Linked DNA regions of Homo sapiens: region 1 is linked to region 2. The links are contacts of gene promoters, found by promoter capture Hi-C in blood cells and fetal thymus (Javierre and others, 2016). All regions are on one chromosome and are shown on one strand. The core of a region is centred on a gene start or on the middle of the fragment in contact, and the rest is flanking DNA. Distances in the headings are between cores, read along the strand shown.

Region 1 (5,857 bases), core at 2,319-4,818, 2.0 Mb after region 2:
CTAACAATAGCTTATTTAAATAACAGTAAAACACACTCTTTTTGGACAAAATATATTTAAAAAATAAAAATCAGATATAACACAGTTTTATTTTAATTCAGAGTATTTACATTGACATAATAATGAATAACCTTTATTCTACCAAAAAGTAAACAAATTGGGAAGGCACTGACTTTAAACTCTAGATACTGCCTAACAGAGCAACCATTTTCTAGAATTATTAATACTTACCTTTGCATATGTTGTGTTGTCTGCAAACTGGGATAGTATAATTTGGGGGTTTTTTAAATCAATACTTGCCATTCCTATTTCACCTCTGGCAAGTCCTCTCCCTTCTACAACAGCTACAATAACTGATGGGGAGTGTGCAGAAATCGCAGATGAGGATGAAGCTGTAAATTTTTAAATAAAGAAAAGATATAAACATTGATAATAATCATTTCTTTTTTTAAAAAAAACTAGGAAATTCTTAATCAAGAGGACAAAATAATGCAATCTGTAGATATCAGTTAGCCTCTTATTTCAATTCTCCCTAAAGGATCTATTGGTTCAGTACAACTATAATTTCAATCAAAACCTCAATATGTTTTTTGGTGGAGCTTGAAAAATTGGCCCAAAATTTACATGGAAGAGCAAAGGGCCAAGAAGAATCAAGACTCCTCTAAAGAAGAGTAAGGTGGCTTGTGGAGGGTACAGGTGGCAAGGCTGTCCTACAAAATATCAAGACTTATTATAAAGCTAAAGATGGTGTGATATTGGCACACAGCTAGACATAATGACCCATCAGAGTTAAAAAAGAACTAGAAACATAGAAACTAACAGAAAAGGCCGGGCGCGGTGGCTCATGCCTGTAATCCCAGCACTTTGGGAGGCCGAGGTGGGCGGATCACAAGGCCAGGAAATCGAGACCATCCTGGCTAACACGGTGAAACCCCATGTCTACTAAAAATACAAAAAATTAGCCAGGCGTGGTGGCAGGTGCCTGTGGTCCCAGCTACTCGAGAGGCTGAGGCAGGAGAATGGCGTGAACCCGGGAGGCGGAGCTTGCAGTGAGCCGGGATCGCGCCACTGCACTCTAGCCTGGGCTACAGAGCGAGACTCCTTCTCAAAAAAAAAAAAAAAAAAAAAAAAAAAAAACCAAACAGAAAAGTCATCAAAATATTTATTACTCAGAATATATAAAGTATTGCTACAAATCCAGAAAAATAAGCCTAAAGAAAAATGAGTAAAAGACATGAACATTAATTTCACAGACCATTATTAAAGATATATAGCCCAAAAGTACAGAAAAAGATAATCTCACTAGTAATCAGGAAAATGCAAACTCAGAAAATAAAAAACTCAGGTAGTATTTTACAACTGTTAGGTTGGAAAATATTGAGTCTAACAATATCAAATGTTGAAGTGGACTCTTACACATTGTTAATAAGAGCATACCATAATAACCAATAAATTAACCAATACAATTTATTATGATAATGATTATTGGCTAATTTAATAATAATCTTATGATGATGATGATGATTACTAAATTAGCCAATAATCATAATAAATTTTAGAAGTTAGTAATGATGAGGATAGAGTAAGATTGGCTTACCTTATACACTATTGATGGAATTAAAAATTAGTCCAGTTCTCAAAAGAAACTTGGCAATATATCTGAGATTCTTAAAAACTGGTAATTTTGGCCAGGCGCAGTGGCTCATAACTGTAATCCTAGCACTTTGTGAGGCTAAGGTGGGAGGATCACTTGTGGCCAGGAGTTCGAGACCAGCCTGGCCAACATGGCGAAACCCCATCTCTACTAAAAAAAAAAAATTGGCTGAGCATGGTGATGCATGCCTGTAATCCCAGCTACTCGGGAGGCCGAGGCAGGAGAATCACTTGAACCCAGGAAGTGGATGTTGCAATGAGCCGAGATGGTGCCACTGCACTCCAGCCTGGGCAATAGAACAAGGCTTCGTCTCAAAAACCAAAAAAAAAAAAAAACAAAAAATGGTAATTAAAAAAAATAAAAAAGGTAATTTCCCTATGTTTCAGTAATTTGACTTCTAAGGGTGTGTTTTAAGGAAATAATAAGAGACTCAGAAAAAAGCTTTATGTATTAGGATGCTCATTATTATGTTATTTACAACAGAGAGATAACAGCATAAATGTATTTTTAGAACCTTAGAGATGTCTTTTATATGTCTATTGAATTTCCACTGGAACTTGGTATTTATTTTCTACTTAAAAATAAACAGGTCAGGGCTGGGTGCGGTGGCTCACACCTGTAATCCCAGCACTTTAGGAGGCCAAGGTGGGCGGATCATGAGGTTAGGAGTTCAAGACCAGCCTGGCCAATATGGTAAAACCCTGTCTCTACTAAAAATACAAAATTAGCCAGGCGTGGTGGTGCATGCCTGTAATCTCAGCTACTCGGGAGGCTGAGGCAGGAAAATTGCTTGAATCCAGGAGGCAGAGGTTACAGTGAGCCAAGTTGTGCCACTGCATTCCAGCCTGGGCGACAGAGCAAGGCTCCATCTCAAACAAATAAAAATAAAAATAAAAGTAAATAAAAAGGTCAGCCAGGCACAGTGGCTCATGCCTGTAATCCCAGCACTTTGGGAGCCAAGGTGGGTGGATCATGAGGTCAGGAGTTCGAGACCAGCCTGGCCAGTATGGTGAAACCCCATCTCTACTAAAAATACAAAAATTAGCCGGGCGTGGTAGCAAGCACCTGTAGTCCCAGCTACTCAGGAGGCTGAGGCAGAAGAATCACTTGAACCCGGAAAGCAGACATTGCAGTGAGTCGAGATCACACCACTGCATTCCAGCCTGGGCGACACAGTGAGATTCTGTCTCAAAAAATTAAAAAAAAAAAAAAAAAAAAAGGAAGGTCATATTCTACTACAGAGCTAAAACTGACTTCTGTAGATCTAATATAAACTTAACTACCATTTATACTTTGGTAGAACTACTTTAAAAAATAATTTGTCATTATCTTATAAATATATGCATTTACATAACTTACCCTGTAACCAAGAAATTCTGTTGTATATACCTTAGAAAACTGTTATACATGAAAACCTATTTTATCTATCTACTCTTCAAGAAAATCTCATAGATTTAGATAAAAATTAAAATTTAAGTATAAAAAAACCACTCACTAGTAATATCAGGGTCAACTTTTAGATTTAAATGCCATCATGTATAAAAGGGAGAGGTTTCTCTTTCTTGTGTGTTTTTTTGTCAGAATGGTTAAAATAATGTAGACTTACATTTATTAACAAACAATTTCAGAAACTATGTTGCCTTATTAATCTAGACTCAAATTATGGATAGAGGTAAACTAATGTATTTATTTTTCATTCATATCAGTTATAGATAAATTCAAATGAACTTAATAACCCTAATTTATAATTTATAAAACTTTTAAGTTTCAAAACATCATCTAGGTTAATCTTCCACTTATTTTACCTGAATATCCCACTTGTGGTGTCCAGCTCTTATAACCTGATCTCTGAGGATTTCCAGTAGACAATGGAGTTTTAAGTGTTTGAGGATAATTAGTATCTCGTGCAGAAGATGAGCTTGCACCAAAAGTAAAATTTGATGCAACTGTGTTTTCTGCATAAGCTCTTTTGTTTCCAAAGTATGAACCTAAATTTGAAAAATTAACAGTCAATTCTTAAAGATTTGAATTATGCAATGATGTATTAGTCATTATAATTTATACCATGTTCACTTTCCTTTTTTTTCTTTTTTTCTTTTTTGAGACAGAGTCTTGCTCTTGTCGCCCAGGCTGGAGCGTAGTGGCATGATCTCGGCTCACTGCAACGTCCACCTCCCAAGTTCAAGTGATCCTCCTGCCTCAGCCTCCCGAGTAGCTGGGATTACAGGCACCCGCCACCACGCCTGGTGAATTTTTGTATTTTTAGTAGAGATGGGGTTTCACCATGTTGGCTGGGCTGGTCTCGAATTCCTGACCTCATGATCTGCCTGCCTCGGCCTCCCAAAGTGCTGGGATTAGAGGCCTGAGTCACCGCACCCAACCACTATGTTCACTTTCTATAAAATTTCATGTGAAAATGATTTTTGAAAATAAACAGATTATAACAAAATTAATGACATTATTGATAAATATACAAAAATATGCTAATATAGCTTTTGCCTCTACAAGTTCACTGCAACTACTCTGGCTAAAATCATAAATTACCCTTTAATCTTCAAATATACCAGATGTGTTGCTAAGGTATGAATATCTGTCCCCTCTGAAACTTACATTGAAATTTAATCCCCAGTGAAGTGTGGCAGGACAGAGGTGGGGCCTTTAAGAGGTGATGGGGCATGAGGGCTCTGCCTTCATGAATGAATTAATCCATTCATGATTTAATAGGTTAATGGGTTATCACGAGAGTAGGACTGGTGGTTTTATAAGAAGAGGATGAGAGACCTGAGCTACCATGCTCAGCTCCCTCTCCATGTGATGCCCTGTACCACTACAGGACTCTACAGAGACTCCACCAGCACAAAGACCCTCACTAAATGTGCCTCCTTTGACCTTGGACTTCCCAGCCTCCAGACTTCCAAGAAATATGTTTTCTTTCTTGATAATCACCCAGTTTCAAGTATTCTTTTAAAAGCAACAGAATACAGACTAAGACATATGTTTCATTTGTATAATAATTATTAGACCTCTTTTAACCTTCTTCTGTTAATTTCTTCATTGAATTTCTCTCCCCTATGCAAATGGCATTTTAGACTCAATTGGCTTCAGTTCCTTATTTAGGTACTTATCTACTGATGTAAGCTATTACCTATTTTACAGGATTGTCATAAAATTTTTAAATAATGTACATAAACAACCTAGCATAGCCTCTTGGCACATAGAAGTTCTAAAAAAATTTTAAAATGTTTGGGCTCTGTTCACCTATTCTCTTTGATTTCCACAACTCTCTATCTTGAATTCTCTTTAAACCACTTTTAGTTTCCTTTGCCATCTCCTTTTTCCTCTGCTTCTTAACTGTTGGCCTCCAGGGCTTCATACTTTTAAGCTTTCCCTCACAAATCAACATTATGCATCTCCAGGCATCTCATCTCTCCTCTTTGTTTCTATTAACATCTATTTTCTGACAACTCTCAAGCCTTCGTATATAGCTGTAACGACTCCTTAAACTGTAAACCAGGGGTTGCTAAACTTTTAATTTTTCCTTTTTGTCTGTATGTGAGACTCTCGTTCTGTAGCTTAGGCTGGAATTCAGTGGTGTGATCTTGGCTAAATGCAGCCTTGAACTCCTGGGCTCAAGCAATCCTCCTACCTCACCCTCCCGAGTAGCTGGGACTATAGGCTCATGCCACCATGCCAGGCTAATTTTTTGTATTTTTGTAGAGATGGGGTTTTGCCATGTTGCCCAGGCTGGTCTCAAACTCCTGGGCTCAAGTGATCTTCCCATCTCAGCCTCCCAAAATGCTGGGATTATAATCGGGAGCCACCATGCCCAGTCTATTTTACTGTCTTATAAAGACAAGGTCTCTCTTTGTCGCCCAGACTGGAGTGCAGTAGTGTGATCACAGCTCACTGCAGCCTCAAGCTCATGGGCTCAAGTAACCTCCTGCTTCAGCCTCTTGAGTAACTATGGACTATAGGTGCACCTCACCACACACAGCTAATTTTTTTTTTATAGAGACAGGGTCTTGCTACATTGCCCAGGCTGATCTCAAACACCTGGCCTCAAGCAATCCTCCCACTTCAGCCTCCCAAAGCACTGAGATTACAAGCATAAGCCACCATGCCTCAGCATAAACTTTTTTTTTTTTTTTTTGAGATGGAGTTTCACTCTTGTTGCCCAGGCTAGAGTGCAATGGCGCAATCTCA
Region 2 (6,558 bases), core at 1,023-3,522:
ATAGACTATCCCCTTCTGTTAATACCCACCTGTTTTCAGACAAGTGTCAAAACCACTGATTAAGTAGTGGTTTCCTTTAAAATCAAACACAGCAATACCTCTTAGGGTGGGTTACTACTACTGATGCTTCCCTTAATCCTTACTAGGGATACAGCAGTATAAACTTAATCCCCCCTACCAGTGTTCTAAGTACAACTTTTAGATTCAGTATAGTTAGTTCTACTTGACATACATTTATTTCAGTCAACAACCTGTGATAGAGACATATGATTAAAAAGTACAGAGGAAACCATGAACAGTTAAGAAAGTGAAAAATGGTCCTCTGGAGAATAAGACAAGGGATATAGAAAAGCTGGGCAAAGAATGACTGCTTTTCCTTATAAGTCTGTTTGTAATACTTGATTTTTAAAAACCTGCCTACATGTATTACTTTTTTAATATTACTACAGTAAAAAGGAAGTGGGGGGAAGCTCATTTATTCTTCCCCCTCCCTAAATATTAACACATTTTATTTTGAGAAACATTTTTACTAATTAGATTCTGGATCATTAAGCAATCTATGCTACTGCATTTAAAAAACGTATTGAGTAATTCACCCAAAGTAATTTTCCCTATAATGGAGCATTCCAAATTTTTAAGCAGAATAGAAAGAAAATAAAGCAAACACTTTAATTGGCTGCAGAGATATTCTTAAAAGATTATGACAAACCTCGGCCAGGCGTGGTGGCTCACGCCTGTAATCCCAGCATTTTGGGAGGCCGAGGTGGGTGGATCAGTTGAGGTCAAGAGTTCAAGACCAGCCTGGCCAATATAGCGAAACCCCATCTCTACTACAAATACAAAAAAATTAGCCAGGAGTGATGTCGGGCGCCTGTAATCCCAGCTACTCGGAAGGCTGAGGTAGGAGAACTTCTAGAACCCTAGGGGCGGAGGTTGCAGTGAGCAGAGATCACGCCATTGCACTCCAGCCTGGGCGACAGAGCCAGACTCCGCCTCAAAAAAAAAAAAAAAAGAAAAAAGAAAAAATATTATGACAAACCTCTATTTTTGCATTCTAACTACCTCATTCTTTTTCATTTAATATTACTGAGGAAGTTGATTCCAAACCTAATCATTATTCATTGAAAAACTAAAGAAAAAAAAACAAAAAACTAGTCATTTCATTTGCTTTCAGAAGCATAATAAAAATAAACATGAAGGGGGTTTCATGATTATTCAAATTTATAGACGGAATCTATAAAACATAACCAAAAATATTGTCCTGTGTGATATTACTTGCTCCTCTACATTCCAACTACTGGGGAATTAAAAATAAGTGTCATAAACAGTTTCTTAGACATCTTAAAATTCTATCCTGCAACTTTGACTTTATAATCCAACAGGAAGGAAAGTCTGAAGTATCAAAAAGAAAATTGACGTGAAGCACAAATCTATATAACCTAACTCTGACACTTTGAACAGAGCAAACATGTTTAGCTGCAATAACAACAACAATAAAACAACAATAATAAAGGTTTCAAAGTCCTGTGCAAAAACAAGCTGAGTCTTCCCTCTGGAAAATAGATAATTTAACAACTTTACAGAAGGACCTGACACCACAATACTCCCGTGCTAAATTATTCTCTTAAAGCACCTGCAAAGCAGAGTAATCTTTCACATCCAAAAGCCACTCCCTGCTCAAAACCACCCGCATCCAAGCCGAACCTGAGACCTCACCAGCTGCCCTACCTCCAGCGCGCTCTCCCCCGACCCCACAGCAGCCCCTCGCGGAGCTCTCCTCTGCTGTCTTCCTTTTTCTTTGCCAAGAACACCAGAAAAGGGGGTCCCTCCAGCTCGGCCGTCCAGACCCTTCCTCTGGCTCAGAGCAGTGGCGAGCCCATCCCAATTCCGCGCTTCCTTTGCAGGCCTCCCTCTGGCGTGGGGACCCTCCTGCTTTCCTATGCAAGTACTAACCAGGCCCGACCCTGCTTAGCTTCTGAGATGAGACGAGGTCGGGGGTGTTCAGGGTGGCACGGCCGTAGACCCTCTGGCTTTCCGCCGCTCCACCTGGCACTCCGAGAGCTAACGCCAGCGATGGAGTCCGCGCCACCCCTGCCCCGAGGCCTCTGCCCCAACTGCGTGGCCGCTCAACTCTCCGCTTCCTCCCGCCCGCCTCTCCACCCCACCCCGCCCCTGGCCCTGTACCTGGAGCTCCAGGCCAGGTACAGCTGGCCTGCCCACGCCAGCTTCCCAGCTGATGCCTGGCGCTGAGCAGCAGTCTGACATGGAGAAGGCGGAGTCCTTCCGGGGTCAGGAGTGCGAAGGTGGAGAGAAAGTGGAGGGGGCCTTCCAGGCTTTCTGCGTGAGGGACTACGTGTGAAGCAGCTCCCGCCATTTTTGTTTAGGGTAGAGGCTCCTTCCTCGTCAAGTGGATGCAAAAACTATATTCGAAGAATTGCATCCTTTTACAAACCGGTAAAAAAAAAAAAAAAAAACTAGTATTGTAGTTCGTAACCTGTCGGGGGATCTAGAACGGTTGTCAATCTGGTAAAAATTATGGAGGGTTTCCCCTGGAAAAAAAAAAATGTGTATACACATGCTCATTACATTAAAGAAAAAAAAGTTACACAATTTCAAAACCCTGAAAACAAGATTAAGAACTTCTACCACAGGCCCTCAGCCCTCAGATGAATGAGTGTTAAGAGGCATTCCAATCCGGTATAGATGATGCATTTATTATTGATTTCATGTCCTCTTTACCTTTTTTTCTGTGTTTCCCACTGAATTAGGCAACCGAAGAATATTGAATGTGGCAATTTATTGGCAGAGTAGTCACCTCTCTCAGGTTCTAATACATAGTAAACTAATAGGGGGCCGGGTTAGGAAAAAATAACAACAACAAAACCCAAGGTACTGTTTCTACGTTCAGTCTTCAGTCAAAACATTCCATCAGAACTGCAGATTTAGGCGGGGCACGGTGGCTGAAGCCTGTAATCCCAGCACTTTGGCGGGCCAAGGCGGGCAGATCACTTGAGGTCAGGAGTTCAAGACCAGCCTGGCCAACATGGCGAAACCCCATCTCTACTAAAAGTACAAAAATTAGCCAGGCACCTGCCTGTAATCCCAGCTACTCGGGAGGCTGAGGCAGGAAAATCGCTTGAACCCGGGAGGCGGAGGTTGTGTGAGCCCAGATAGTGCTACTGCACCCCAACCTGGGTGACTAGAGTGAGACTCTGTCTCAAAACAAAAAACAAAACAAAACAAAACAAAACAAAAAAACTGCAGATTTAAGAATTCCAGTTGCTGAGCATATTTGTGGTGAAAAGCCAAAATAATTCTGTTTTCAAAATTCCCATTTAACCAAATGGAAAATAGAATAGTAGTACCAATTTATGATATTATTAGATTAATAATAACTAACGATCCACAGACTGGGTTTTATGTGAAAATATTTTGCACTTATAGGGTAAATGGAGCTCTTGAGACTTGAAGAACCTGAAATTTGTAAGGCTATTTTCATTTATTTTCCCAATTTCCTCCTCTTTCCCATTTCCCACAGCTTCCAAACATTCAACGTAATGAGAATAGCAGTAATGATGATGACTACCACTCAACACAACTTTCCTGAGACCATATTATCTCCTTAATTCCACAATAAACATTATGAGAAAAATAGTATTACACGGTGGGTACAGAGTTTATTCTTTAGCATGAGAATAAGATATGTCACATTTAGGCCAAGTGAGGTGGCTCACATCTGTAATCCCAACACTTTGTGGGGCCGATGAGGGAGGATCCCTTGAGGTAAGAAGTTCGAGATTAGCCTGGGCAATAGCAAGACCCTCATTTCTACAAAATAATAATAAAATATATAAAATAGAAATATCACATTTAATTTATGTTTATAAACCAAATGTAATTTGCTGTAAGCCTCCCTTCTTCTGGTTTGGCAGAGTACTGCACTCAATCTTAGCCATTATTGGATATATTAGTTAACATATTCGCTACAAGTAAAAGAAAACCAAACAAGTAGTGGTTTAAACCAGAAGGACAGGGGACTCAATGTCTTCTGATATTGGAGACAAGGAAAAAAAAATTGGAGCCTGGATTAATTCTGAAGGCCAGTACCTCCCCCAGATAACCAAGCCATCGTGTAATGCTCACTAAACCAGAGAATGGAGTTCATGGAGTACTACCAGTTGTTTCTTCTGTACAAGTACTGCAATACATGCTACAGCAACCATTAATGAATTTAGGGGATCCTATCTGCATAATATCAAAACAAAACTGTGAAGTCAGACTGCCTGGGTTTGAATCCTTTCTTGGCCACTTACTAGATGCATTGTTAAAGGAAAAGAAACACAAAGCTATTTTTCTGTAGTTTCAACACTTCTGACTCCAAATGTGTGGAGGTTTTTCCCCACCAAACAAGTCTCCAATTATTTCTTATTATAAACTCCACTCTTTAATTTAGTGTCTACCAACTGGGTGTTGTACAGTTAAATTTAATTCAATACTATGCACCAAACCCTTAAGGGCTCAGTCCTACAAGACTGCCCCCACTTCAGATACCAATTGCAAATCCCAGGTTGTCACTTGTACTTCTGACCAACCAGCTATAAATCAGGAATTCCCACAATCTTCTCCTCCCATCCCAAACCAGTCTATTGATTTATAACAGAAGATATTACAAAGGATACAGATGAACAGCCGGATGAAGAGGTACATAAAACAAGATCTGGAAGGATCCTAAGTGCAGGAACTTCTGTCCCCATGGAATCAGGGTGTATGACCTTTTTGGGATATGGATGTGTTCACCAACTCAGAAGCTCTTAGAACCCCGTACTTCAGGGATTTCTGTGGAGGCTTCATAATGTTGTTACCAGAAAGGGGTACCAATCCAGATCCCAAGAGAGGGTGCTTGGATTTCGCACAAGAAAGAATTCAGGGCAAGTCCACAGTCCAAAGCAAAAGCAAGTTTAAGACAGTGAAGTGGTGAATGTCCACTTACTCTATAGACAGAGTAGGGCGTTCCCAAAAGGAAGAAGAGGAATGCATCCACTCTAGGTACAATATTCATTTATAGAGGAGTTAAAAAAAAAAAGATCATGGGAAGATGTGCTCTGCTACGAGGGTTTGTGGTAAAAGATTAATTTTCTTAATTACCATATTTTGCAAGAATTAATATTATTATCTTTAAAGCAAAATTAGGAATGCTTTTGCTCTCAAGGTATCAGGGACATCAGGACACTCCCAAGTCTGGGTCTGTTTAGTAAACATTATCAATCTGTTCCCTTAACTGTAAATGTTTAGAAGCTAGAAATGCCTAACTTTCTGGGAATGCAGCCCAGCAAGTCCCAGCCTCATTTTCCTAGCCCGCACTCAAAACGGAGTCGCTCTGGTTTGAACCCTCTGACAATGTAACCATAATTGATTATTAACTCAATCTTCAACTACTCTCTCCTCCACAGAGGATAGGGTAGGTATGGGGCCAACATTTTTAAGCTTCTAATCATAGCTTGAATTTGCTGGTGACCAGCCCCTATCCTGAAGCTATCCAGGAGCCCAACAAGAATATTAGAAAAAAAGACACTCCTATCAACCGGGAAATTCCAAGAGATTTAGGAGCTCTGTGTCAGGACTGGGGACAGAGAGCAAATATATATCTTTTCTTTCTTTGTTTCTTTTCCTTCTGTCTGTCTCGTTTGCCTGCCTGCCTGCCCGCCCGCCTTCCTTCCTTCCTTCCTTCCTTCCTTCCTTCCTTCCTTCCTTCTTTCTTTCTTTGTCTCTTTCTCTCTTTCTTTCTTTCTTGCTTTGATACAGGATCTCACTTTATTGCCCAGGCTGCACTGAAGTAGTGTGATCATAGCTCACTGCAGCCTAGAACTCCTGGGCTCAAGTGATCTTCCTGCTTCAGTCTTCTGAGTGGCCAGGACTACAGGCACTTGCCACCATGCCCAGTTAATTTTTAAAATTTTAGTAGAGACAATGTCTCCCTATGTTGCCAGGGCCTGGTCTCAAACTCCTGGGCTCAAGTGATCCTCCCACCTCAGCCTCCCAAAATGTTGGGATTATAGGTGTGAGACACAGTGCCTGGCCCAAATATGTATTTTTTATGTCACAGTGGTCTTCAGCAAGGTACTTACCCTTTTCATGTCTCAATTTCCTCCTGGCATGTTAGAAAGACAAATATAGGCCTGGCACTGTGGCTCACACCTGGAGGCCGAGGTGAGCAGATCATTTGAGGTTAGGAGCTCGAGACCAGTCTGGTCAACATGGTGAAACCCCATCTGTACTAAAAATACAAAATTAGCCAGATGTGGTGGTGCGTGCCTGTAATTCCAGCTACTCGGGAGGCTGAGGTAGGAGAATCGTTTGAATCCAGGAGGCAGAGGTTGCAGTGAGCCAAGATCACGCCGCTGCTCTCCAGCCTAGGCAACAGAGCAGGACTCTGTCTCAAAAAATAAAAAGAAAAAGAAAGACAAATATAGTAATGCTTAGAAAGAACTAAGAATCTTATGGAAAATTTTTTTTTTTTGGAGACGAAGTCTCGCTCTGTTGCCCAGGGTGGAATGCAGT

The links. The method cuts DNA at HindIII sites, captures the fragments that hold promoters and counts their contacts. A CHiCAGO score of 5 or more calls a contact.
Region 1: a contact is called between a fragment that was not itself captured here and the fragment with the promoter of MIGA1 in region 2, in 1 of 17 cell types (non-activated CD4 T cells). The highest score is 5.2, in non-activated CD4 T cells.

The regions. Positions count from the first base shown.
Region 1 is chr1:75,801,516-75,807,372 of GRCh38, reverse strand. MSH4 (mutS homolog 4) reads right to left here. Exons shown (of 20, transcript NM_002440.4): 2 at 3,460-3,642; 3 at 232-392. Among named protein-coding and RNA genes, the nearest start is that of MSH4, 7.6 kb to the right of the region's middle. The HindIII fragment of the contact is 2,941 bases long and covers 2,098-5,038 here.
Region 2 is chr1:77,775,363-77,781,920 of GRCh38, reverse strand. MIGA1 (mitoguardin 1) reads right to left here and starts at 2,272. Exons shown (of 16, transcript NM_001416120.1): 1 at 2,185-2,272. It also overlaps the pseudogene RNA5SP21. RefSeq lists enhancers at 2,296-2,385, 5,760-6,284. The HindIII fragment of the contact is 6,952 bases long and covers 1-5,486 here.